Linked DNA regions of Homo sapiens: all the other regions are linked to region 7. Evidence: promoter capture Hi-C in 16 types of primary human blood cells and fetal thymus (Javierre and others, 2016). All regions are on one chromosome and are shown on one strand. The core of a region is centred on a gene start or on the middle of the fragment in contact, and the rest is flanking DNA. Distances in the headings are between cores, read along the strand shown.

What was found. The method cuts DNA at HindIII sites, captures the fragments that hold promoters and counts their contacts. A CHiCAGO score of 5 or more calls a contact.
Region 1: a contact is called between a fragment that was not itself captured here and the fragment with the promoter of LRRC40 in region 7, in 1 of 17 cell types (naive CD8 T cells). The highest score is 5.1, in naive CD8 T cells.
Region 2: a contact is called between the fragment with the promoter of ITGB3BP here and the fragment with the promoter of LRRC40 in region 7, in 4 of 17 cell types (naive CD8 T cells, non-activated CD4 T cells, activated CD4 T cells and 1 more). The highest score is 10.0, in naive CD8 T cells.
Region 3: a contact is called between the fragment with the promoter of PGM1 here and the fragment with the promoter of LRRC40 in region 7, in 2 of 17 cell types (total CD4 T cells and activated CD4 T cells). The highest score is 9.5, in total CD4 T cells.
Region 4: the fragment with the promoter of ALG6 here is called in contact with the fragment with the promoter of LRRC40 in region 7 in 6 of 17 cell types (non-activated CD4 T cells, activated CD4 T cells, total CD4 T cells and 3 more); the score reaches 22.2 in non-activated CD4 T cells.
Region 5: the fragment with the promoter of MSH4 here is called in contact with the fragment with the promoter of LRRC40 in region 7 in 8 of 17 cell types (naive CD8 T cells, non-activated CD4 T cells, total CD4 T cells and 5 more); the score reaches 25.3 in naive CD8 T cells.
Region 6: a contact is called between a fragment that was not itself captured here and the fragment with the promoter of LRRC40 in region 7, in 1 of 17 cell types (activated CD4 T cells). The highest score is 5.5, in activated CD4 T cells.

What each region holds. Positions count from the first base shown.
Region 1 is chr1:75,729,827-75,733,569 of GRCh38, forward strand. It overlaps ACADM (acyl-CoA dehydrogenase medium chain), which reads left to right. Exons shown (of 12, transcript NM_000016.6): 3 at 2,818-2,915; 4 at 3,027-3,096; 5 at 3,702-3,743. Among named protein-coding and RNA genes, the nearest start is that of ACADM, 7.0 kb to the left of the region's middle. The HindIII fragment of the contact is 1,211 bases long and covers 1,889-3,099 here.
Region 2 is chr1:63,521,412-63,524,946 of GRCh38, forward strand. ITGB3BP (integrin subunit beta 3 binding protein) reads right to left here and starts at 1,814. Exons shown (of 9, transcript NM_014288.5): 1 at 1,718-1,814. The coding sequence starts at 1,722. EFCAB7 (EF-hand calcium binding domain 7) reads left to right here and starts at 2,114. Exons shown (of 14, transcript NM_032437.4): 1 at 2,114-2,223. RefSeq lists enhancers at 1,213-1,836, 1,998-2,077. The HindIII fragment of the contact is 3,975 bases long and covers 1-2,649 here.
Region 3 is chr1:63,591,376-63,594,660 of GRCh38, forward strand. It overlaps PGM1 (phosphoglucomutase 1), which reads left to right and starts at 2,036. Exons shown (of 11, transcript NM_002633.3): 1 at 2,036-2,359. The coding sequence starts at 2,114. RefSeq lists enhancers at 2,023-2,312, 3,013-3,072 and a silencer at 2,353-2,652. The HindIII fragment of the contact is 4,618 bases long and covers 1-3,285 here.
Region 4 is chr1:63,366,029-63,369,441 of GRCh38, forward strand. It overlaps ALG6 (ALG6 alpha-1,3-glucosyltransferase), which reads left to right and starts at 1,599. Exons shown (of 15, transcript NM_013339.4): 1 at 1,599-1,659. RefSeq lists enhancers at 1,059-1,198, 2,059-2,168 and a silencer at 1,399-1,878. The HindIII fragment of the contact is 8,093 bases long and covers 1-3,181 here.
Region 5 is chr1:75,794,527-75,798,181 of GRCh38, forward strand. It overlaps MSH4 (mutS homolog 4), which reads left to right and starts at 2,356. Exons shown (of 20, transcript NM_002440.4): 1 at 2,356-2,703. The coding sequence starts at 2,460. RABGGTB (Rab geranylgeranyltransferase subunit beta) reads left to right here. Exons shown (of 9, transcript NM_004582.4): 9 at 1-560. The coding sequence ends at 124. The HindIII fragment of the contact is 6,934 bases long and covers 1-3,655 here.
Region 6 is chr1:77,566,485-77,570,229 of GRCh38, forward strand. It overlaps ZZZ3 (zinc finger ZZ-type containing 3), which reads right to left. Exons shown (of 15, transcript NM_015534.6): 13 at 1,848-1,982. Among named protein-coding and RNA genes, the nearest start is that of ZZZ3, 110 kb to the right of the region's middle. The HindIII fragment of the contact is 3,871 bases long and covers 1-3,236 here.
Region 7 is chr1:70,203,525-70,206,955 of GRCh38, forward strand. It overlaps LRRC40 (leucine rich repeat containing 40), which reads right to left and starts at 2,055. Exons shown (of 15, transcript NM_017768.5): 1 at 1,866-2,055. The coding sequence starts at 2,016. It also overlaps a transcript of SRSF11 not described here. RefSeq lists enhancers at 1,649-1,708, 1,969-2,278. The HindIII fragment of the contact is 8,465 bases long and covers 1-3,431 here.

The DNA of each region.
Region 1 (3,743 bases), core at 1,244-3,743, 5.5 Mb after region 7:
AGCCAAAGACTAAATGAAAGTTTTCAAGCACTGTGAGGATAGCCATTTGGGATGGTGGATTTTTTTTTTTTTTTTTTTTTTTTTTTGAGACTGAGTCTTGCTCTGTTGCTCAGGCTGGATTGCAGTAGCTCCATCTGGGCTCATTGCAACCTCTGCCTCCTGGGTTCAAGCGATTCTCCTGCCTCAGCCACCCAAGTAGCTGAGATTACAGGTGTGGGCCACCATACCTGGCTAATTTTTATATTATTAGTAGATATGAGGTTTCGCCATGTTGGCAACGCTGGTCTCGAACTCCTGGCCTCAAGTGATCCACCCGTCTTGTCCTCCCAAAGTGGGATTATGGGCATTAGCCAGCATGCCCAGCCAGGGTAGTGGATCATACTGAGATAATTAGCATTAATTTGGTATGATTGCTTGTCACTTTAAATTTCTCTCTCAGTAGTAAGAGACTTGCAGGAGAAATCTATGGTGGTTCACTGAGTGACAGAGGATGAGTTAGATATAATTGTTTGGGAGGGAGATTGTGAAGTTCAATACGGGTCTATTCCTTGAACCAGTTGCATCTGGTTCTTTATCTGTAAAGTGGAAATAATATCTATAACACAGAATTTCTATGAAGATTAAATTATATGCTGTATTTAAAGCCCCTAGCACTTAGTGACTGGATCAAAGTAGTTTCTCAATAAATAATACATAATACATACTTGTCATTTTTCCTTTTTTTTTTTTTTAAGAGACAGGGTTTCACTCTGTCACCCAAGCTGGATGCAACCTTGACCTCTGGGGCTCCATGGATTCTCTCGCCTCAGCTTCCTGAGCAGTTAGGACAATAGGTCCATGTCAACCACACCTAGCTGATTTTTTAAATTTTTAAATGTTTTGTTGAGACAGGATCTTGCTATATTGCTCAGGCTGGCCCCAAACTCCTGGCCTCAAATGGTTCACCTGCCTCAGCCTCCCAAAATTCTAGAATTATAGGCATGAGCTACCGTGCCCAGACTTTCTCTACCCTCTATCTACCTGCAAGATTGCTATCAACTGGCACCAATCTTAGAAGTAAAGCTGTGATAGAGAGAACACTGGACTGAAATTCTTAAGTATACTTCTGCTAATTCATTGTGAGACTGATACTAGAATTTCCTTACTCTGCATTAGTTTATCAATAAAAAGAGAGATTTGGCTGGGCGCAGTGGCTCGGGCCTGTAATCCCAGCACTTTGGGAGGCCGAGGTGGGCGGATCACGAGGTCAGAAGATCGAGATCCTGGTGAAACCCCGTCTCTACTAAAAATACAAAAAAAAAAATTAGCCGGGCGCGGTGGCAGGCACCTGTAGTCCCAGCTGCTCAGGAGGCTGAGACAGGAGAATGGCGTGAACCCGGGAGGCGGAGCTTGCAGTGAGCCTAGATTGCGCCACTGCACTCCAGTCTGGGCGACAGAGCGAGACTCCGTCTCAAAAAAAAAAAAAAAAAAAAAAAAAAAGAGATTTGATCTTATGCTCTTCAATTCAGCACCAGAATTCAGCTTTTATGTATTGTTTCTCACATCCCCATACAAATGATTACTGTAGTCTTAAACATTCCTCTGTGCATTTGCTCTCATTTTTCTTGCTTGAAATACCCTATTATCTCTTAAATTTTACCTAATCTTTGACGTTAGATGCAACCACATTAAAACACAAGGATACCATGGATTTGAAAAGATGCAGTTAGCAATTGACTCCTCTCCTCAATCAAGCCACCATACTAATTTCATTAATTTTAAAACAATCCCTTATTTTATGTAAACAAATTGTTGGACACCATTTATTAGCATTGCAGCAGGATTTTATGTTATTATCTTTTGAAAAACCTTTCTACCACTTTTACCAGTTGCTTTGTGCTAATTTATAAGCTTGTCTGAGTTTAAAGGAGCTGTAAGCCTAGGCATGGTGTCTCATGCTTGTAATCCCAGCACTTTAGGAGACCACGGCAGGAGGATTGCTTGAGGCCACGAGTTCAAGACCAGCCTGGCATCATAGTGAGACCCTGTCTCTGTGAAAACAAAAAAAATGAAATAGATAGGGTGAGGTGGCTCCCAGCACTTTGGGAGGCCAAGATGGGAGAATCATTTGAGCCCAGGAGTTCTAGACCCATTTGGGCAACATGGCAAAACCCTGTATCTACAAAAATTACAAAAATTAGCCAGATATGGTGGCATGTGCCTGTGATCCCAGCTAGTTGAGAAGCTGTGGTGGGAAGATCATTTAAGGCCAGGAGGTCGAGGCTACAGTGAGTCGTAATTGCACCACTGCACTCCAGCCTGAGTGACAAAATGAGACTGTCTCAAAAAAAAAAAGCAAAATTATGATATTGATATTCTTATATGACACTTTGAAATAAGTTTTATTGCTTTATGTCACTGAGTGTGTTTCATCTATTTCGTTAGATTGATTCTTGTCGTCAGGGAGATGTCTTGTATATTAGTTTCACTTCAGTGTTAGCAAACATTTGATAAATTGGCTTAGGAACTAATAATAAGTTAAACGTTTTTTATATCACCAATTGGAAAAGAAAAACTCACTTGAGCTCTACAGGTTAATATCTATTACTCATTTGTAAAAGTTAAAAATCTTACCTATTTCCTTTAGCATTTGTATTGACATAGGTTTATTTATATTGTGTAGTGAACTCTTGATTAGTCAAAAAATGCACTGTAGTCTGAGTTTCTGATAATCAAGGATTTAAGTCCCCACAATAAATACACATTTCTACATACTGACTTCATAGGACATTTTTCCTTGTTATCCAGTTTTAACTTTTCTAAATAATTTTCCCTTAGAGTTCACCGAACAGCAGAAAGAATTTCAAGCTACTGCTCGTAAATTTGCCAGAGAGGAAATCATCCCAGTGGCTGCAGAATATGATAAAACTGGTGAAGTAGGTATATACATTTTAAAGAGGGAAAAATCTTTTACATTTTTTACAAGATTATGTAATCAAACTATCTGGATTTCAAAATATATTTTAACTCAGTTCTTTTTCTTCTAGTATCCAGTCCCCCTAATTAGAAGAGCCTGGGAACTTGGTTTAATGAACACACACATTCCAGAGAACTGTGGTAAGCTTTCTTTATATTTTTAATACTGGAATGCATATGAGTAAGAAAAATTGTGGAACTCTACTCAGTCATTTTTTTCAAATATTTCTTGCCATTAAATGACTTTCTACCTTTGTCTTCCTGCTCAGACTACAGTGTTTGCCCACTTTTGGAAGCTTGCACTCTATACCTAGATGCGTTTTTCCTTCTTCTAACTGGTTCCAACCTTAACTTGCACCTAAACCTTGGTAACTTCCGTTTCTAGAGTTGGTCAATTTGTTGTGTTTTATTCCTATCTTCTATATTACATTTTATTGAGTCTTTTTTGTGAACCATGATTCTTTTCCTCAGACCCAGTTTTAGAGTTGAATTGAGTTTTAACAAAATCAAGTTAGAACAGGAATACAGGTTCAAATTACAAATAGTAAAATAATTTTTTGAAAATTTTAGAGCTTTAAGAAAGTATAATTTCTTATTGTGCCAGCCAGAACACATGTAGATATTATATTGCAAATTTCCTTTTAAAACAAATTTTGGTCATATTGAAAGCAATTAAAATAGTTTACCTTTATTTCTATTGTGATGTACTACATATTACAATGTGTTGAAACATTTTGATACTGTAGGAGGTCTTGGACTTGGAACTTTTGATGCTTGTTTAATTAGTG
Region 2 (3,535 bases), core at 564-3,063, 6.7 Mb before region 7:
ATATTAGCTATATATGTGAGATGTTAACCTCAACTTTAAGGTTGTGTATTTATTACCAGAATATACTTATCTAAAAGCCTAATATAACATCTTGTGTGCATATGTTAGGAAGACAGTTGTCAAAAAGGTCCACTTTTAGGCCTGACACAGTGGCTAACTCCTATAGTCCCAGCACATTGGGAGGCTGAGGTGGAAGGATCACTTAAGCCCAGGACTTCAAGACCAGGCTGGGCAACACAGGGAGACACTGTCTTTACAAAATAAAAAAATTAGGCATGGTGGCATGTGGGAGCCCAGGAGGTAGAGGCTGCAGTGAGCTGTGATCACAGCACTGCACTCCAGCCTGGGCAACAGAGCCAGACTCTGCCTCAAAAAAAGAAAAAAAAAGTTCCACTTTTCATAGTTTTTTGGTTCCCCACTCCTATACACAGATACACACAGTTCAGGAGGTATTACCACTTGTTTGGCAAATACACCTCTGTTTTCACTGTATTCTTAGGGATTTTGTGTGTGTGATTGTGTGACATTATCTTTGCAGCTTTGTTTATTTGAGAACTGGATGATTTTTCTAATGCAAGAGTAGGGAAACAAGTCTCTTTGCTTAATTCTGGGGAAAGGAAAACCTCCTCAATAATCCATAACTTTTAAGGGCATCAGTAAAACATGCATTTATTGGCAGCTGTGTTGAACACCCTATTAGGTGATGGGTTTCTTTATCTGTAAAGATAATAGCAGCCCCCATCCCCTAAAGTATTTTAGGATTCAATGAAAAAACGTAGATAAATTGATTAATACAGCACCCACATTGTAATTCAAGATTCAATAAATATAGGTTATCATTTCTGTACAGCTTTCCCCTTTCATGTCAATTCCTATTTGATACAAAAATTTCCCCAGCTGTGTTACTTTGCATTTTACTTAATCCTGAAATAAACTAAGGAACAGGTTACACTAGAGGGGGTACCTAAATCAACCTGAGGACAAGGACGGCCAAGGAGAAATTACAGGTGTTTGATATCCACCCCACTCCCCCAACCTTTAATGGCTTTTTTAAGTTTCTATAGGGTAGCAACTATTTTATGCATCTCAATATAGGATGGATGAAGGATATGAAAAACAGATGAATCTTATCTAGCACAATGCCTATTCCCACTATGGTCATTCTCAATAATCAGATTATTGGTCATAGATGGGAATTTAGAGATCATGCAGTACAAACTTATTTGTGTAAGTAAAAAAAAACGAAGCTCAGGGTCGATAAGTGACTTGCCCAACAGTGAAAGAGTCTTATCTGGAATCCAGGTATCTAGACCCACTCAGTCCATGAGTTCTCCCACGGGTTTACACGAACGCGCCACATTAATGAAGGCAAGGGACTGACAAACTACGAAGGCGTGTTTTCATCTACTCTGTCCCATCCTGTGTGTCAACCTTATTTATGTTATTTCAAGTTAGACATCACCTAAATACAGCCCACAGTTTACGAAATCTGTCAAAAGCATCGTAGAAACAGAAAGCGAAGGAGGACTATCGTATGAGTACCGCTGGAGGAGACGTAGAGTTGAGGGTACCAAGCGAAGGGAATTGCCTGTGGACAGAGGAGACAAGTTCATACTCCGAAAAAATAGGAAAACGAGAAAGGCTACTGGGCCACATAATATCTTCTCTTCTTGCAGAGGGCCCCCAAAACAGCAATACCTGGGGAGGAGATACCTACGGCATTCTGAGATTCGGGAAAGCACCACTGCCGCTGAATAAAACGAACCCAGCAACTTCCGAAAACAGAAAATCCGCCAAAGGAAACGCCAAGGCATGAAAAGCGCGCGCTGGACGTTGCGTCAAGCCCACCGCGGCCGGGCGGAAACATCCTCCCCGCGACGAAGGATCCGGGTGTGCGCGAGCAAAGGAGCGAGCGGGGAGTTCTAGGCCCAGGACAGCACCTATTTCCTGCTGGTGTAACAGAGCACCTTCTCTCACTACTCTGGCCATACCACCCCCGCGATAGAGGAGCAACACAGCTGTCTCTGTGCGCTCCGGATCAGCGCTTCCTAGATTTCTAGCCGGATCGTTTGGAGAAGGGCTCTGCATCTTATTTCCGGTGGCGGTGAGGTGCAGTTGCCATGGTGATTAGAGAAAGGCCGAGATCTGTCCAGCTGCGGTGAGAGGAACGCTGAATCGCCGAAGAGAATTGGCTGCGCTTCCTTGTTTGTGAGCTAGAATTAGGTAGCAAACAGCTCGCTGTCTCTGTCTCTTCGCTCCCTCTGTCCCTCTCTGTGCAGCTGCTTCTCCTTCCTCTGCTTTGTCTACTTCTCTGTCATAAACATTTGGTCCATGTATGTACCTAAAATGTACATGTAAATGCGGTTTTATTTCCAGAGGAATACAAAAATAGAGAGATGGTGCCCGAGATTACCTGTGACGGTATTTCACTGTGTAGGGACGGTGACTGGACGGCTTTCTGTTTTCACTTGGCCCTGTAGAAGCCTTAGGCGCTTGTTAACAGTTTATTTTTCTTGCTATTGTGTGGCTGGTTATTTATGGAGCCGTTTGCTGCAATGTACTCTCTAGGCCCCTGTCTCAGTCTCGGGCCGGAGTTTTAAGTAAGGGAGGTTTCCAAGCCTGCGGGGGGTGCAATTATATGTTTATTTAAGCTTTAGTTTGGTTTCTCGTCACAGAAAGGAAAAGAATAAAATTCTGGCACATTTCTGCCTTGGGATTTCCATGTGAGGGAGTTGCCTTGTTTGGAAAGAATATTTGAGGACGATCCTAAAATATACTTATATTTTAAAATTGCTTATTGCAAAGTGAAATTCATTCTCCCTTACTTCTTGAAACAGTTTTCTTTCACATTTGTGAGGAGATGCATGCACACATATGTGTTTAGAACTCTGATGCTTAATTATAGTATTACCAATTTGCAGTAACCAGACTGTGACACCACATCCCTGTGGGGTCCTTCTAAATCTGGTGTAATATGAAAGTGTCAGGCAGGCGGCCTGCGTATTATAAATAGGGTACTTCATCCATGATAAGCAATTATTATCTTTCTTTCCCAAGTGTAAATGATCTATATAATTCGAAAAGGTGCAAGTGATTTAGGCCTCCTGAGTAGGAATGCAATGAGTCCTGAAGGGGACCCTACCTGTGTTATCTTATTATTGAACTTGAAATATTCAATTTATTAGGTTGGAGATCTATTTTTAGAAGTCAAAGCTGGGTAGAGTAATATTGGAAGCTGTTAGACCACCAGTAGAATCTAATACCCCATAGTAACCATTGTTCAGTACTATATCCACATTAACAAAGAAGAAACTGTTCGTGAAATTTACGGCTTTTTGCCACTTACTGCTAGCTGGGTGACATTGCTACCCCTCAATTTCCTCATCTGTAAAACGGACAAAAAAATACCTGACCGCTGTAATAGGGATAAGACAAGATGTATGACAGTTCTTTAAGCTCTTATGTACAGAGGTGCTATACAAACCCCAAATATTGTTATTAATAAAGGAACACAGTAAAACTATGATAATGCTAT
Region 3 (3,285 bases), core at 786-3,285, 6.6 Mb before region 7:
CACTCAGATTTAGACTGGTGTGTTATGCAGTTAAAGCTAATTGTTACAACTTCTGGGGTGAGAGAAGTATAGATCAATTCCTCTTAAATGAAAAGCTCCATCATATTTCCAAAGATACTGAAGAATATAGAAAGGGCATGAGATCTGAATTTGGGCCCGTGACTTTACAAGTTATCATTTATTGATGACTTACTTATTAGCACTGTGGTAGGAGCTGTATATTCTCTATCTAAACCATACAACTCTAAGGTAGGTATTTTGAAGGCTCAGTGAATCTATGCTATATTTTCATTTTGTGGAGTTAGATAACCTTGATTACATTCACCATCCAATCCTCAATTCTCTCGTCTATAAAATGGGCTTGATTATATTATTTAATTCACAAGATTACACTGCTCTGTAAACTCCTGTGCAAATATTAGAACTCATTACTAGCAGTCCAGGGTTCCGTTTTCACATAATATTTGCCACCGAAACTCATCTATAGTGACTACATCAACACACTGTATCTACATAGCATGTACTATATGAGCATGTATATCAACACTTGGTTTGTGAGAGTCTGCACTCTTATGGGTCTGTTCGCCTCCCTGCTTGATCAAGACATACCAATTAACTACCAAAAGAATATAATTCACAGGTGAATGATATGCTCTGGTTTTGGAATTGGGGAAGGGGAGCTAATATTTTTGAAGGCCTCTATGTTTCAGGCACCAGGCTAGATGATTTACTTCTAACAGCTGATTATGATTGAATTTGTTTGGACTGGGTCATTTAGAAACCACCTCAAGTAATTCTACTGTGAGCATGGGTCACAGTAGGATTCTACTGTGTATCCATGACTGAGAATTTCTGACATACAAAACCCCATTAAATCTTGCAAAAATATTCCAAAGTAGGTGATATGTTTATTTTACAGTAAGGAAATTGATGCCCACGGACATTAACTAACTTTCCCAAGAGCACACACCTTGTAAAGCCAAGTTTTTTGCCACTTTACCAAAATGACAGGTTTCTTGAACAGAGGAGACAATCACTCTCATCAAATTAAGGGAGATACTAAACCGAAAAGCAAGAAAGACTGAAGATTCCTACTTAATAATCAAATCCCCTTGGTTGACCTTGCTATCCCCCGTGAAACTTTTCCAGCCATGTCAGTCCTTGTTTGTTGATCTCCTCACTTTATTTCTATTACATGAGTAACTGGCTAATTTTGATGGTGTTCATACTTATCCTTACCATATATTTGCTCCTACATTTGTCAAGTCCTGCTTGTACATTTCCTAGTTGCCAACCTGGTGTCACAGCGGGCAAATCATGGGAAGAGCCCTGGTTTTGGAGCCAGACCACCTGAATTGGCCTCCCGCATGGACTTAGCTGTGTGGCAATGAGACAAGGCATTTTATTCTTTGAATTTCAGTTTTGTAAGCATAAAAAGGGGAAAAATAAAACCCAGAGTTTAGTAAGGTTTAGAAACGCTACACTCAGCAAGTCATAGCTAAGTCACCGTCACCAATGGTAGTCAAGTGTGTGGTGCAGCAGGAAACATTTGGAGTCGACTCCTTTACGGAACTCAAATGCCCTCACATTTAGGGAGAAATAGAAAGAATTACGACTCATGAAATCGAGCTGGGGCTGGCACTTCTGACCCTCCCAACAGGTTTCCAGAAAGCTATTTACACACGATGCATTCGCCAAACCACTGGAAATCATTCTACCCTGTACTTTTTTCCACCCTGCCTCACGTCCTTGCCCTATGACCGGGTTCCTACCCCAACCTCTGCCCCAACACTTAGAGGAGGAGTTGCGGGCCTCTTTTTACAGTGGATAGGATTCCGAAGGGGAGAGTAAATCAGTAAGGCTCCACCCATTTCACAGGAGGCCTAGAGACCGGCGCTCCCCTTTCCCCTCCCGCCGGACCTGCCAGGAGGTGGGCTGGCGCGGAGGGAGGGCCCTGTCCCCTGTCCCTTTAAGGAGGAGGGCCAAACGCCGGCCTAGAGTGCGGCGTAGCCCCCACCCGCCGTGCCCTCACCCCAGAGCAGCTGCAGCCTCAGCCGGCCGCCCCTCCGCCAGCCAAGTCCGCCGCTCTGACCCCCGGCAGCAAGTCGCCACCATGGTGAAGATCGTGACAGTTAAGACCCAGGCGTACCAGGACCAGAAGCCGGGCACGAGCGGGCTGCGGAAGCGGGTGAAGGTGTTCCAGAGCAGCGCCAACTACGCGGAGAACTTCATCCAGAGTATCATCTCCACCGTGGAGCCGGCGCAGCGGCAGGAGGCCACGCTGGTGGTGGGCGGGGACGGCCGGTTCTACATGAAGGAGGCCATCCAGCTCATCGCTCGCATCGCTGCCGCCAACGGGGTAAGGGATGCGCGGCCCCGCGCCGCTGTGCACCCTGGCGCGTGTGCGACGTGCGGCCCGCGGCGCCCTCCCTCGCTCGGGGCCGGCCGCTTCCGCGCGCTGCCGCCTCGGTTTCCACCTCCCGCTCCTCCCTCTCCTTCGCGCTCGCTCTTCTGGCCTGGAGGCCCGACGGAGGTCGCCGGGCTGGGGAAAGTGGCCACGGGACCCGGCAGACCTGCTCGCCTGACTCCCGGGGCGCCGGGAGGTGCGGGCGCGGAGCCTCCCAAGGTCACGCCCGACTCTCCGTCTCTAGCCGCTGCCTTCCCTCTCCCCGTCCCCCGCCCCTCCCGAGGCGTCTGACATTTGCCCTAACCTTGCAGCCTTGGAAGATACGATTACGGCGCAGAGTGCTGTCGCCTTAAGCAGGAAAGGTTAGACTGCCGCCGCCTCGCCCAGAGCCCCCTCGCATCCCGCCCGCTCCTCTGCTATTCTCGGCTAGGACTGGCGCTTCCCGCTGGCTCGGAGCCCGACACTGTGGGGCAAGGGTGGCGAGAGCACCCATCCCCCTGGGGCGTCAGGTTGGCAGATCTCAGCAGGCGGGTGCCAATCTTTTCTCCCCGCCCCCTAGTTTGCCTTGGTTCCGAACTCCTGCCCTTTGCGCGGCCTGCTTGCTGGGGGGCAGGCGTTTGAAACATCTAGTCTCTGCCCAGTGGTGCCCGGGATCTGTTCCACCGACGGGGCTGGAGCTGAATTTTCATTAGAATGGCAACATACCCAAAGACGCCCTTACGCAAGCAAGCAGTCGTGGCAGGCCAGGAAATTACCGCAACACCTTGGTTCCGCCCCCGGCCAAGGAAAGTTAACTGACTTGATTGGGCGGGTCCACTCGGATAGGGGAAATTAAAAAAAAAAAGTTTTTCAGTAAATCTGATATATGGAAATGTGGG
Region 4 (3,413 bases), core at 349-2,848, 6.8 Mb before region 7:
CGAAACTGCGTCTCAGAAAAAAAAAAAAAAGACCTGTACATGTTTCTTCTTGCATTGATCTCTCCCTTTGCAGTTCCACTATTGCCATCTCAGTCCAAGCCCTTGTCTAATCATGCGTGGACTGCTATAGTCTCCCTCTGATTCATCTGATCCATTTTCACCACTTTAAGTTTTCTCTAACACTGTAACTGTACTGTATACTTGACTCCCTGCTAAAAGTCATTTAATAGCCCCTTACTGATCACTGGATACATTCCAGACACCATAGCCTGGTATTCAAGGCTCTCTACAATTACCAGTCCTTTCCAGCTTCATCACCCACCACCTAAACTAGAGGAAATGTTCTACACTTTTCAGCTGCCACAATATTTGGCTTGAACCATTTCCTTTGTCTAGATTCTTACTCTCATTCTCTGGGCTTATCCAGCCAGGCTTTCCTTCAAAGCTCAGCTGACTCCTCCAGGAAAAGCATTTCCTGATGGTTTGCAGTTTACAGTGAACCCTCTTCTCCTAACTCCTACAGTGCTTAGTGCATATGTAAGTAATGTAACATTTAGTATGTGTTTCCTTCTATAGCTTTTTATCCTTTTATGCATAAAAATGTCTTTCCAATGAGAATTAAATGCCTTGAGGGCAGGGACCTGCCATATTTCTCCATATTCCCAGTGCTGATGGTCTTTTAGATATAATCATATTTTAGACCTGGAAGTTCACCTAGCCCTACTGATTTCTTTCACAGTTGAAGAAACTGAGGCCCAGAGAGAAGTTATTCAGACTCAGTAGAAAGCCATAGTCCTAGCCAAATATTTGCTAACACTTACAAATTATAGGGGTTGGCTTACGTAGAATGGCAAGATTCAGAAGTGGGGAATGAGGGCACTCTCTGAACAAAGGAAGGCAAGTAAAAATCATCACAGCCGTCCATGCGTGATTGGACAGAAGCCTAGACTGAGATGGAAATAGTGGAACTGGAAAGGAAGGGATCAATGCAAAAGGAAAAGTGTGCAGGTCTTACTAACTTACTAGATAGGTATTTTTGGCAAGTTTGGGACCAGGTGATTCAAGCTGCCCGCTGGGGCACGTGTAGTGGCTACTCGAGGGCAGGGCTGTCCTTTTGCACAACGCACAGGCTCTCGCAAATGGTTGGATGTTCAATGTTTCTTACTTTAGGGGGCTGCCCAGTCTTCTTCTTCGCAGGCATGTGGCTAGAAGAAAGTGAAGCAGGTTGGCTTTCTGGCTCCTCGAGGGCACAGGCCCAGAGGTGGTGAGGACCGGCCAAGGCTCTCTGCTCAGTGCAGCAAGCCAGGGCCCGCCCCTGACAGGAATCCGTTGGCTAAGCAGCCGCTCCGGCCTTGGCCACGATCCCAGGAAAGAAGAGCAAGGGGCTTTCCACCTGCCCCTAGCCTAACCCGGGGCTGGGGACCTCTCGGGTTCCATCGGCTCTTGCCCCGCCTCCTAAGCCGGCCGCCTCCTGTCCAGGCCAGGTTGCCCGCCCCTCCCCTCACGCTCGACGGGCTCGCTCCCGCACCGGGCGCGCGGGTGGTGCGCGGGCACACGGAGGCGGAAGGCCGGAGGGGCAGTCCGCCGCGGGGGCGAGCGCGCATGCGCCTTCCTGGGACCCACGGCAGGCGCGAATCCCAGCGGCCGGCGGGCGGCGGGGTAAGAGCATGGGATCCCGGAGGTTCCGGACCCCAGGCCAGTGTGGGGAGGTGCCGGGGGCTCGGACGCGCCACGAGCCGGCGCAGAGCTGGCGACCCGTCTCCCAGCTCCGCTCCACTCCCAGGGACGCGACGCGAGGCCTCCCCAGCCCTTCCTGCAGGGTCGCTTGTGGGTCGGGTGAGGGGACGCGGTGATAGTGGTGGCACTTGCAGGCTGGGGCGGTCCTGGCACCCTTGTCCTTGCGGTTCTGAGGGCCTGGCCCTCAAGAGGAGGGGCGGAGAAACGCGAGAAGGGATCCCTTTCGCCCCATATACACGCCCGGGATAGCTGCACTCCCCGGTGTTGTGTCCACTGCGGTGGAAGGACCTTTCAGACTAAAAGGAGCAAAGTCGGTTCTGGGATGGGGACGGCGGGCTTGGCATTTGTCGAGATGCACCGTCAGGGCAAAGGAGGACGAAAAGCGCATCTACTGCCTGCCTAGCAACTTCGTGGCCAGTGGATGGGTTAGAAAATTACTGTTTTCTGATTTACAGGTGGAAAAAGTCGCAAATAACCCTTTTTCTGGTTTAAGCAGAAGAGAGTCGTTAAAAGCCTCGCATAATATCTTTAACCACACAGGGCTCAGTAAAATTAGGGTACCTCCCCGCTTCGTACACACAGACGCACACAGCTCCATTCAGCAAATACTTCTTGGGTACCTGCCTTCTGCTAACACTGTTCTACAAGTGGGGAACAGAGAGCAACGACTAAGACAGGAGGATCCCTGCTCACAGGGAGCCTTTAGTCAACACATCCAAGTAATTTCCTTTTACACTTTTTTTTTTTTTAATTGAGACAGAGTCTTGCTCTGTCGCCCAGGCTGGAGTGCAGTGGCACGATCTTGGCTCACTGCAACCTCTGCCTCCCGGGTTCGAGCGATTTTCCTGCCTCAGCCTCACGAGTAGCTGGGATTACAGGAACGCACCACCACGCCCAGCTAATTTTTGTATTTTTAGTAGAGATGGGGTTTCACCATGTTGACCAGGCTGGTCTCGAACTCCTGACCTCAGGTGATCCACCTGCCTCGGCCTCCCAAAGTGCTGGGATTACAGGGGTGAACCACTGCGCCCAGCCCCTTTTATGCTTTTTAAATTGGAATATACCATATAGAAAAATACTGTACGCAAATTATAAGTTGTAACTTGTTAATTTATCCTAAAGTCAACACATTTCCTAACCACTACTCAAATCAAGAAGGAAGATTCACAGCATTTCAGAACACCTCTCTGGGCACCCCTCCCAACCACCATCCCTTCTTTCCTCCCCAAAGGTAACCTCTTTCCTGATTTTTAACACCATAGATTAGTTTTGCCTATTTATGAACCTTTCATGGAACCATATGATATGTATTCTTTGGTGTCCAGCATTTATACTGAAAATTATGTGTGTGAGATTGCACCATGTCATGTGAAAATACAAATCCTGTTAGTGAAAAGAATTAGGAAGCAAATTGAAGGTAATGATACAAACAGTAAGGGGAGGAAGCTTTAGTAGGATAGTCAGGGATGATCTTTCTGAGGGGATGATTTGAGATTTGGCATCAATGACAAAAGATTAGCCATTCCAATCAGTTCTGGAGTTATCCCGTGATGTTTTTATTTTAAATAAGAAAATAATTAGGGCCGGGTGCAGTGGCTCACGCCTGTAATCCCAGCACTTTGGGAGACCAAGGAGGGTGGATCACCTGAGGTCAGGAGTTCAAGATCAGCCTGGCC
Region 5 (3,655 bases), core at 1,106-3,605, 5.6 Mb after region 7:
CTTATTTGGAATTGCTGGATTGTCACTTTTGGGAGAAGAACAGATTAAACCTGTTAATCCTGTCTTTTGCATGCCTGAAGAAGTGCTTCAGAGAGTGAATGTTCAGCCTGAGCTAGTGAGCTAGATTCATTGAATTGAAAGTTGCATAGTATAGTTTTGCCATTTTAACATTTCTGTATTTGAAGTGCTTATCGAATCTAAAAGTGACTACTGTTAATATTTTGTATATTGTGTTAAATTAATTTTAATAAATTATATAATTATACATATTGTAAAATAAAGACCGGTATTTTATTTTCTGCTTTTTATTCTGAAGTCCTGTTATTCTGACTACAGTTCTTTGTGTATACTTCTGTGTCTGTTATGTTCAATAACTGAGCTAACATAAAATAACTCTAGGTTTCTACTTGATTTTTCCCCCATGTATACCTTTCATCTGTTCTATAGCAAGTTGATGTAAATTGGTTTGTCAACAAGAATGTTAACTGATGAAAGTGGATAGAACCCATACATGAATTAAATGATGCACAAAATAAATGGCTGTTGAAATTTGGAAATGATTGATAGGTTTGAATATGGTTATTCTGAATTGGTCACAGACTTAGGTTAAATGGCAATCTACCATCTTAAAATGGGGTTGTGATTCGGACTGTCCTTTTTTTTTTTTTTTTTTTTTTTTTTTTTAGCATTTTATATATCAGAATTACCCAAAGAAGGAGTTGTCTTCAAATAAGGAAACACTAACGGGTAAGTTGATGGTCACCACAGTATTTTTTTGCACCTGTCTTTTTCTTAAAAAGCTAAAATGGGTACAATCACTCTTTTTTATTTTTTTGTGACAGAATCTCTGTTGCCCAGGCTGGAGCGCAGCAGCACGATCTCAGCTTAACTGCAACCTCCGTCTGCCGGGTTTAAGCAATTCAGCCGCAGCCTCTCGAGTAGCTGGGACTACAGCCGCACACCACCATGCCCGGCTAATTTTTATGTTACTTTAGTACAGACAGGGTTTCACCATGCTGAGGAGCTGGAGACCAGCCTGACCTTGTGATCCACCCACCTCGGCCTCCCAAAGTGCTGGGATTACAGGCGTGAGCCACCACGCCTGGCCTAAAATGAGTACAATCACTCTAGGGGTTTACAGTTTTGGTGAAAGTGAGGTATTCTCTATTTTTAAATTTTATTTTTTAGAGACAGGGTCTTCCTTTCTTCCCCAGGCTGGGGCATAGTAGTGCAATCACAGCTCACTGTAACCTTAAACTCCTGGGCTCAAGCAGTCCTTCCACCTCAGCCTCCTGAGTACCAGGGTCTACAGGTACCTGCCACCATGCCCACTATGCCCAGCTGATTTCTTAATTTTGGGGACAGGCACTGTCTTCCCCAGGCTGGTCTCCGGAGGTGAAGTAATCCTCTGGCCTCAGTCTCCCAAAGTACTGGGATTACAGGGAGGAGCCATCGTGCCCGATCTGAAAATAAGGTTTTTTGATGGAAATTGAGATTTTTCTCAAGTATGTTTGGAATGCCCTGTGCAATAATCATTCCAAGAACAGAGATGTTCTTAAGGACTGTTGTCACTGCATGTGGGTAAACCGCTGTGCATAACTGGTTTATTGAGATACTCAACAGTGGCAGGATTTCAGTAGTGGTGTAAATTAATGTCTTCTAATAGCTTCTGTATGGCAGTATCCAGATAATTTCGTCATGTTTAATCCATGGATCTCTGGTAAGTTGGTACTATTGGCCTTATTTAAGGAATTTTCTAAAGGTCACCACTGCAAAGCTGGAGTTTGAACTTCTAGTGTGCCATTAACTGATTTATATGTTAGAAACCACAGTACTAGAAATTGGTAGATGGGGAATTGTTAACTGAGAGATCTTACCCAGTCAGTCTTTCCCTGTTTCCTACTCTACTATGCACACAGCCATGTGCATACTATCTTTTGATAATATAACTATCTTTCCTATATTTGGTCACAAGATCAACCTTAGGTGGGTTATGCTGTGTGAGCATTACACGTTCTCATTGTGTCAAAGGCACTGGGTGTACTGTGTTGGGTGGTTTCTACATTTAAAGATAAGCTAGTGTGCTTGGACGTGTGGGAAATGCATGTAACATTTGCAATAAGGGAGATTGGGTGCTGTGAGAATAATGGGGCTAACAAATCGGGTGGTCATTGATGGGCCTTGCAGAGTTCTGGTCAGTCTGATACCTGCAGGCTGAGGATGTTCCAGTGAGGTTCATGTGGAAAGTGATGGGTTTGGGAATGGCTGGAAGCAGGGTCATAGACCTGAAGTACGTGAATCCATGTGGAAAGCTGAGCCTGCCTGCGCCTGCGCAGTGCAGCTTAGTGCGTCGGCGCGCAGTTCTCCCGCCCGTTTCAGCGGCGCAGCTTCTGTAGTTGGGCTACTGGAGGGGTCGCTCAGAAACCTCATACTTCTCGGGTCAGGGAAGGTTTGGGAGGATGCTGAGGCCTGAGATCTCATCAACCTCGCCTTCTGCCCCGGCGGTTTCCCCGTCGTCGGGAGAAACCCGCTCACCTCAGGGTCCCCGCTACAATTTCGGACTCCAGGAGACTCCACAGAGCCGCCCTTCGGTCCAGGTGGTCTCTGCATCCACCTGTCCTGGCACGTCAGGAGCTGCGGGCGACCGGAGCAGCAGCAGCAGCAGCCTTCCCTGCCCCGCGCCAAACTCCCGGCCAGCTCAAGGCAAGGAGTGATTGGGTGGAGGAGTCTCCTTGAGGCTAGAGGCCGGCAGTTCATGGAGGCTCGGGGGCACGTGGGTGGTGGTTACCACAGTGAAGTTGTGATTTGGTTGGGGCGTGAGATCTGAGTGCCCTGGGAATTTGGTGAGTCTGGGTGATTAGAAGCCTTGACTTTTCAAATTGGTTCTATTGCAAGACCTTGACTGTGGATGGCTCAGTTCTGAGAAAGGCTGAAGTATCCCATATAACGTCCCTCACAGTGTCTGACAAATGACAGTTTGTGCGTGAGTTTGCTGATAGAAGTTGTGAGCTGATCTTTGGCTGCTGAATTTAATTCTCCAAATCCTGCTAAGGTGGGATAAAATAGATTAAATTGAACATTTCATCTAATTCAGGGAAAATAATATGTTTAGTATTAAAAGAGTGGGCTGGGCGGTGGCTGACGCCTGTAATCCCAGCACTTTGGGAAACCAGGGTGGGCGGATCACTTGAGGCCGGGAGTTCCACACCAGCCTGGCCAACATGGTGAACCTCCCACCCCCATCCCCTATCTCTACTAAAAGTACAAAAATTATCTGGGTGTGGTGGCACGTGACTGTGGTCCCAGCTACTCAGGAGGTTGAGGTGGGAGGATGGCGAGTCCGGGAGGTCGAGGCTGCCGTGAGCTGAGATTGCGCCACTGCATTTCAGCCTGGGTGACACAGTGAGACCCTGACTCAAAACAAACAAACAAAAAAGATGCATGTCCTTCAAATCATTTATTATTTTGTTAGTCTCTATTCATGACAAAGCATCACCATTTTTCACACACGATTGCAACACAATGGTAAAGTAACAAATACCAAATCCAATGGTCATTTTTCAGTTCATCTCATGTGACCTTTCTGCTGTATTTAATGTTCTTAATTTCTTTATTTTTAGAAACAGAGTCTCGCTATGCTGCCCATGCTGGTCTC
Region 6 (3,745 bases), core at 51-2,550, 7.4 Mb after region 7:
TATTTGTAATCATCTACTTGAAAGGTACCTCAGACCACTGTATGATGACTATGGTTGAGAAACAGAGAGTTAATACCATAGTTAAAACTATCCAAATACTGGTTAAGGAAGCAATGCCACAGCTGCCTCCTGTAGTGCTTCACTGTTGGTAATTGATACAGAATTGTTTTAGCAGGTTCTCTTGGCTAACATAAACCCAGGCAACAATGAAATTCTGTCTAAACTTTTATCTCTTATTGAATCGCTCTCCCAAAGCCTAAAGACTCCTAATAACCAATGCCCATCATGTCAAAAAGGCAGATCTAGCTCTTTCTCAGCGTGGTGGCATTGTGACAGTCCTCAGTGTGTTCTGTGCACTTTTGGAAATCAAAGGATCTATCATTTCTAGTTTCTTTGATCATCTGGTCAACTATAGTGGCTGACAGAATGGCAAACAAGCCATGGCTGGGTTTTGCAGCAAAATTAGGAGAAGTGAAGCAAGTTTTTCTGAAAGGCCAGAGCTGCCAGTTAGGAAAATCTCTATTGGAGAAACAGGGTCACTGAAAGATCAAGAGGGAAAATCATTTAATATAGTATGGTTACTGGCTACTCTAGAGGATCAAAGGTATAACTTTGTTTTTAATTTGGTTTACCAGTCACAGCACACATCAGTACTTTCATGTGCACCCACCAACACCACCAAGTTTATGGTCTCATTATTACTTCCTCCAGTCCAACCAAGTCAATTCTAATGCCTAAAGGCTTCTCAAACTTGCCAATCTTTATTTCCATGGCCACCAGTCAAGTTCAGGACACCCTCCTCTTTTGTCTAAATTATCAAAAGAATCTCTAACCAGTTTCCTTGACTCTAGTCTTGCCTTCCTCTAATTAAGTTTCCATACTATGGCCAAAATGATGAGGGGAAAAGCTGGTCAGTTCCAAACCCACTGCTTTCCTAAAGATCATCACCCCCAATAGTTTAAGTAACTAGAATGATTCTTTCCAAAACGTAAATGTCATGTTACTTTCTGCTTAAAATCATTCAATGGTTCCCCCCACCAACCTCTCAGGATAGTGTGAGCTCCTTGGCAAAATTTATAAGGCGGTGCAAGCAGCCTCTAACTACTCTCTAGTATGTACTCTAGCCACGCTCAACTATTTTGTTTAACTTCTCTAAATTCCTTATGAGAATGAAAACAGAGTAAGGGCAAGAACTGAGTCTGTCTTGTTTACTGCTGAATCTCTAGCACTTAGCAAAGTGACTGGAACATAATGTGTATTACAAAATTCTGCAGAATGAGTATATGCATTTCTATTAGCCTCTCAATCAGAAAGGGAAAAAAACCCATTTCTGACCCATGAACAACAGCAACAAAAAGAGAAACGGCTAAACAAAAGCCCCTCACATTTTACCTCAATTGATAGCTACCTGTATGTCTGTCTTCACTCTACTAAATAATAAACTCTTCACATCAGGAACGATGGCACCACTGCTTTGCATAAATGAATGGGATAAAAGATAACTTTTTCCTACATGCTTAGCAATTCTGGAGTTTAACACTACAGAAACCACTTTAAAGTATCTCTTATCACCCTTTTAAAATTAAATGAATACTGCAGCCTGGCCAACATGGTGAAACCCCCATCTCTATTAAAAATACAAAAATTAGCTGGGTATAGTGGCACACACCTGTAATCCCAGCTACTTGGGTGGCTGAGACACGAGAATCGCTTGAACCCGGGAGGCAGAGGTTGCAGTAAGCTGAGATCACGCCACTGCACTCCAGCCTGGGCAACAGAGTGAGACTCTGTCTCTAAATAAATAAATAAATAAAATGAAATGAATCCTAAAATTAAATAGAACTTACCTTAAAGCCCACATGTTGCACAAATCCACTTTCAGCTTGCATTTGCTGAAGTTTCTGCTTCTTTAACTTTTTAAACTGTAATAGTTCTTTATATTCAGGTAAATTCCTATACATGATAGGAATACTTTCGTCATCCTATCAAAAAAAAAAAAAAAAAAAAATGTTGGTTTGGTAATTAAAATGAATTAAGTGTAAGTAATACTGATACAGAATATTTTTCTACTGATATTTTTCATTTTTAAAATATCTCTTAGTACTCATAGAAAATTAGTGCTGTTATTAGCAGTATTTTCCACTAATGCTTTTGGACTTTTTTTTTTTTTTTTTTTTAACACAACAGTAATTCTGAATTGTAGCAGACTACTTCAATGCAGGTAAAAGGGAAGCACGGCCATGATTACCACCTCTGTCACACACTATTGCAAACCCAATCCCATCTTTATATTTTCACGGTTACTTGAGTGACTTGTAATCTACTTCTCCCTCATTTAAGGAAGTTCCTCTTCTCCAATCTAACAGATTTTTACATTTGCTCCTGTAAACATGACACTTTCTTAATAACAAGCAAACCAACCTCTGCTCTTGTTTTTTGCTCTGTACTCCCAATGATCAAAGTAGAACATTTCTCTCCTACTCAACAAGATGAACTGAGTTACAAAGACGACTATTTAGAATGGACTGTAAGAGACATAAACAGTAAAAACTATATAAATGTATTAAGTAGGCTAGGTGCAGTGGCTTATACCTGTAATCCCAGCACTTTGGGAGGCCGAGGTGGACGGATCACTTTAGGTCAGGAGTTCAAGACCAGCCTAGCCAACATGGCAAAAGCCTGTCTCTACTAAAAATACAAAAATTAGTTGGGCATGGTGGCACGCACCTGTAATACCAGCTACTCGGGAAGCTGAGGCAGGAGAATTGCTTGCACCTGGGAGGCGGAGGTTGCAGTGAGCCAAGACTGTGCCACTGCACTCCAGCCTGGGAGACAGAGTGAGACTCCGTCTCAAAATTAAAAAATAAAATAAATGTATTAAGTTGAAGTATCCCTTAATAAACTGGCCTTCAAGGTATAAAGTCTATTTATGATTCCGAACTTTTAGATACATATGTTCGGGACCATCCCCCACCTCCCAAATTGACAAGTAGCTTTCTACTCAAAGTATTAACATGCAAAATTTGTCTATTTAAAATTGCTGACAACACTGTGGTTCATCATCCTAGACAACTTCAAGATTATCACAGATGCCCAACTCGCTATTTCTGGCCTCTAATCTTACACTGATTCTACTGAAATAATCTTCATCTTCATTCCTTCTCAGAGTCTCCCACTCCAACAGCCATACCTTGGACCTTGCCTTCAACTATAAGTGTTTTACATCCCAAATATTAAGCTTAGATTTCCTACCTCCACTGTTATTCCTACTTCTCTCATATTCTCACCCCAAATAATCAGCTTATTTTTTTAACCTCATTGAAATTTCTAATCACTATTCTGCTTCCTATTCTCCCAATTCATTTGTGCTCTGCCACCCAGGTTCCATTTCTTTTCTTTGCTACCTTATGACTGATCCCGTGCTCACTTATTTCCTAAAAGCATCCCCAATTCTCTGATCCATGCTCTGTAAATTCCCAATCCCGGACCAGACAAGCCCTACCCCACCCATTCCTCCTGCTACATTAGGTATTAAGTGCTATGTTTATTTTATATCAAGTAAACAAAAGCTTACACAAAGCAGCCCAAGTCAGAAATCTAAGTGTTATCCTCAGTTTTTCTTTTTTTTCTTTTTTTGAGACAGAGTTTCACTCTGTCACCCAGGCTGGAGCGCAGTGGCGCGATCTTGGCTCACTGCAAACTCTGCCTTCTGGGTTCACACCATTCTCCTGCCCCAGCCTCCCAA
Region 7 (3,431 bases), core at 805-3,304:
CTCTGGAGTAGCAAGAGTGAGATGTAAAGTAAAAACTCCAGGAAACCAACTAGAAGGTGCTGCCATGATAACAGCAATGGTGAATTTTTACTGTGTACTTTTTATGTACCAGGCACTTTATTTCATTTTATCTCATTTAGACCTTAATAGGTCCTGTTATGACTCCTGCATAATAAATGAGAAATTAGGGCACAGAGTGATTAACCATCTCAATGTTATGTGAGCAAAGATAGGAAGATAAGAAGCACGACCCCGTAACGAACTACAAACAGTTCAGAATTATAGTGGTTTGCCTATCAAAGTTTCACTAACAAGTGATGAAACTGAGGGCTACATACAGCCAGACAGAGAAAGACTTTCTATATTATAGTAACAGGGATTCCTTTTTTATATATAAGCTACAAATACCATGAGTTTCTGCCATTTATATCTTTCCCTCCTATGAAATGCTGTTTATTCACTCATTTAAAATCATTTTATGTACCAGGTAAAGTGTTAGGTTCTGGTTATATAACAATAACCTAAGCAGTTCTAATCCATATCATCACGGACCTAAGAGTCAGAATCCATGTGCTCTCTTAAAGTTTAACAGACGAAACCACCTGAGTCTAGTCAATAAGTACATTCTAGCACACCACTTATGATTTGAGAATACTCATTCACTTACTTATTGCTTCCGCAAAATTTAATAAGACTCTACTATGTACCAAGCACTATTTTCAGTGATAGAAATACAACAAAGCACAAAACAAAGCTCACTGACTTCATGATATTAACCTTTTGGTTGGAGGGCAGAGAAAACAAAAAACATAAATGATATAAATTCTGATAGTGATAAATGCTGTTAAAAAATTAAACAGGTAAGAGAACAGAATGTTAGCATGATAGGTATGCAAGTTTAGAGAAAAATGTTTCAGGTTTTGGGGAAACCAAGTAGATATATATATATGCACAACTGTAGTTTGAAAATGAGTATGTTCCCATTGATCAAAAACTCTTTTAGGTGGAGTAAGGATTCTGTGTCTTTTCATTCATTCAGAAGCATTTGCTTGCCTAATCTACTTTATACATGTCACAATAAGAAAGCAATCATTAGAAGGAAAATGGAAGGTTTTAATCAGTCTTAAAACCTAAATATAAATGAAGAAAAACATTACAGGAAAAATGCTCTATTTCTCCATCTCTCCATTCCCCTCCCTCTCTCTCTTACACACACACACACACACACACACACACGACAATCAGAAGAGCATCTGGCCATTCATTCATGGTACCCAGATTTGTGCTTCTTGGTCTTTAACAGGTTTCTCAGGATGTCCCCACATTCAAACACTCTGTGTGGCATCTATCCTGATCTTCAACTTAGAAAATATACTCATTATTCCTTGTAAGTAGAACTCTGCACAGCTGCATACAGAAGAGCGTCTCGGCAGGGAACAGTGCAGGTTCACAAAGGGGCCGATAAAACATATAATTTTAGCTTTGGTAATTGCCCTTGAAGATTACAATAAGAGGAGGAAAATAAGGGCCAAAGAAACAAAAGATTTGCCCGTGATTTGATAGCTGGTTTCGTCACATATTATGTTGCTTATCCCACAGAATGTGGGAATCCCAGAAAGCGCCCCGTTTAAATTTAGACCGTATTTTTAGCAGGGTCCCTTTAACAGAGATTGCGGGAACCTGGGAAGGAACTGAACTGGGCTAACCAAACCGGTCGAAATGAGCACAGGGATTAGATTAGAGCACAGAAATTCTGGCTAGCAGTCTGAGAAAGGGGGCCAAAGCCAGCCCAGAGAAAAGGGAGGTTGCCTGGGCCAAAGGCTTTCTGACAGGAGACACAATAGGGTCGTACCTCTGGGTCTTACCTTCACTGAGGTTTCTACCCGACAGGTTTAACTGGCCGCTCTTCCTCGCTGCCTTCAACAGCCCTTGGGGTACCGAGGTACCGCAGTCTCTTCCACCTGCTTTGAAACCAGCGCGGAGATCCTGCCCCGCTATCCGCTTCAGGCGCGACATGTTCAAAGTCCTAGGTCCAGAAGCTGCAGCCCCACCCGTGACGCTTAAAGGTGGCGCCGTTGGGATGCCCCGCTCCTTTCGTGAGCGCGCGCTCTGGGCGCTGGGCTCGCGGCCTCGCGCTGGGCCTTCACTCTCTGCGGCGCAGTCCAGATGTCGTCAGCACCAGCGCCTGGGCTGGAGGACAGAGAAGCCTTTTCCGTTGCCGGTGCCGGCCTAGCGTCCTGGAATTACTTCAATCAAGTAAGTGCGTTTAACGGGCTTAAGAGGGGCTTTCGGGTTTATTGTTTGCACTGTTACTGCGACTCCAACCTTCTCCTCTGTGCTTCCACCGTGGCGAGGGTGTGGGGAAAGAGAACCCTCTCTTCTCCCCTCTCCTAGTCTGAACGTGGGCCTTGACTAAAACTTGAGATCTGGGCGCGGTCGGCAGCGTTTCTGGACCCCAGCCTGTGTTTGTCGCTTGTGGTGGTGGCGCCAGACCTCTGGCGTACGGAGTAAAAGAAATTTTCTGTTCTTAAGGCTTGTACTCTGACACCATTCTCGTTGTATTGAGGGTATATAGCTTACCCAGCAAAGGAGGTAATGTGAAATGGAAGGACTGGCAACATAGAAGACAAAAACAAAAATCCTTAAAATTTAATAAATGTTCTGTGTATCAGACAGTTTAGGGAGACAAGTAGTGGTACATGCTTTAGTGAAGCTCAGACAGCTTGGATTTTTGAGCCCTAAAAAGCAAGTTCAAATCTCAGCTGCTTCTTTACTTTAGAAACTGTTAACTTTAGGCAGTTTACTCAACCGCTTTTAAAGCTCATTCCTTTTTTTCATTACTTTGGGGATAATTCCTACCGCATAAGGTTTTTGAAATAAGTGAAGATAAAAACTAGAATCTTGAGCTCTCGGTGAGTCCAGAATAATAGCAAATGAAAATTTTGTTCAATGTAAGTCGGTGTTTCCTAGGAAATTAAAATTTTCATCTGAAATGTACAACTTCTTGATTCAACAAGTAATTATTAAGATTAATCCTGCCTAGTATGTGTACTATCCTGGGTGCTAGACTTTTCTTTTGCCTGAAATGATTTTGTTTTAAAAGCATATGCCAGGGAATACCATTCTAACCCCCATCAAGTCTACTGAGGATTGGTAGAATAGTTGAAAGCTAGGATGAAGGCCCTTTGATCAATTCTTCATCACGCACTTTTACCTGAGTCCAGGTTATTGCTACCTGTAAAATTCGGTTTTTAACTCTACCCTTTTTGTTCTTATTTCTGTGGAGTCCTTTACACTAATATCGAACAAGAGAAAGTTACCAATAGTTGTTACCCTACTAAAAAAGCAAAGAGTGGATTTTTGTCTTTTTTTTTTTTTTTTTTTTGAGACAAAGTCTGGTCTGTCGCCTAGGCTGGAATGCAGTGGCGTGA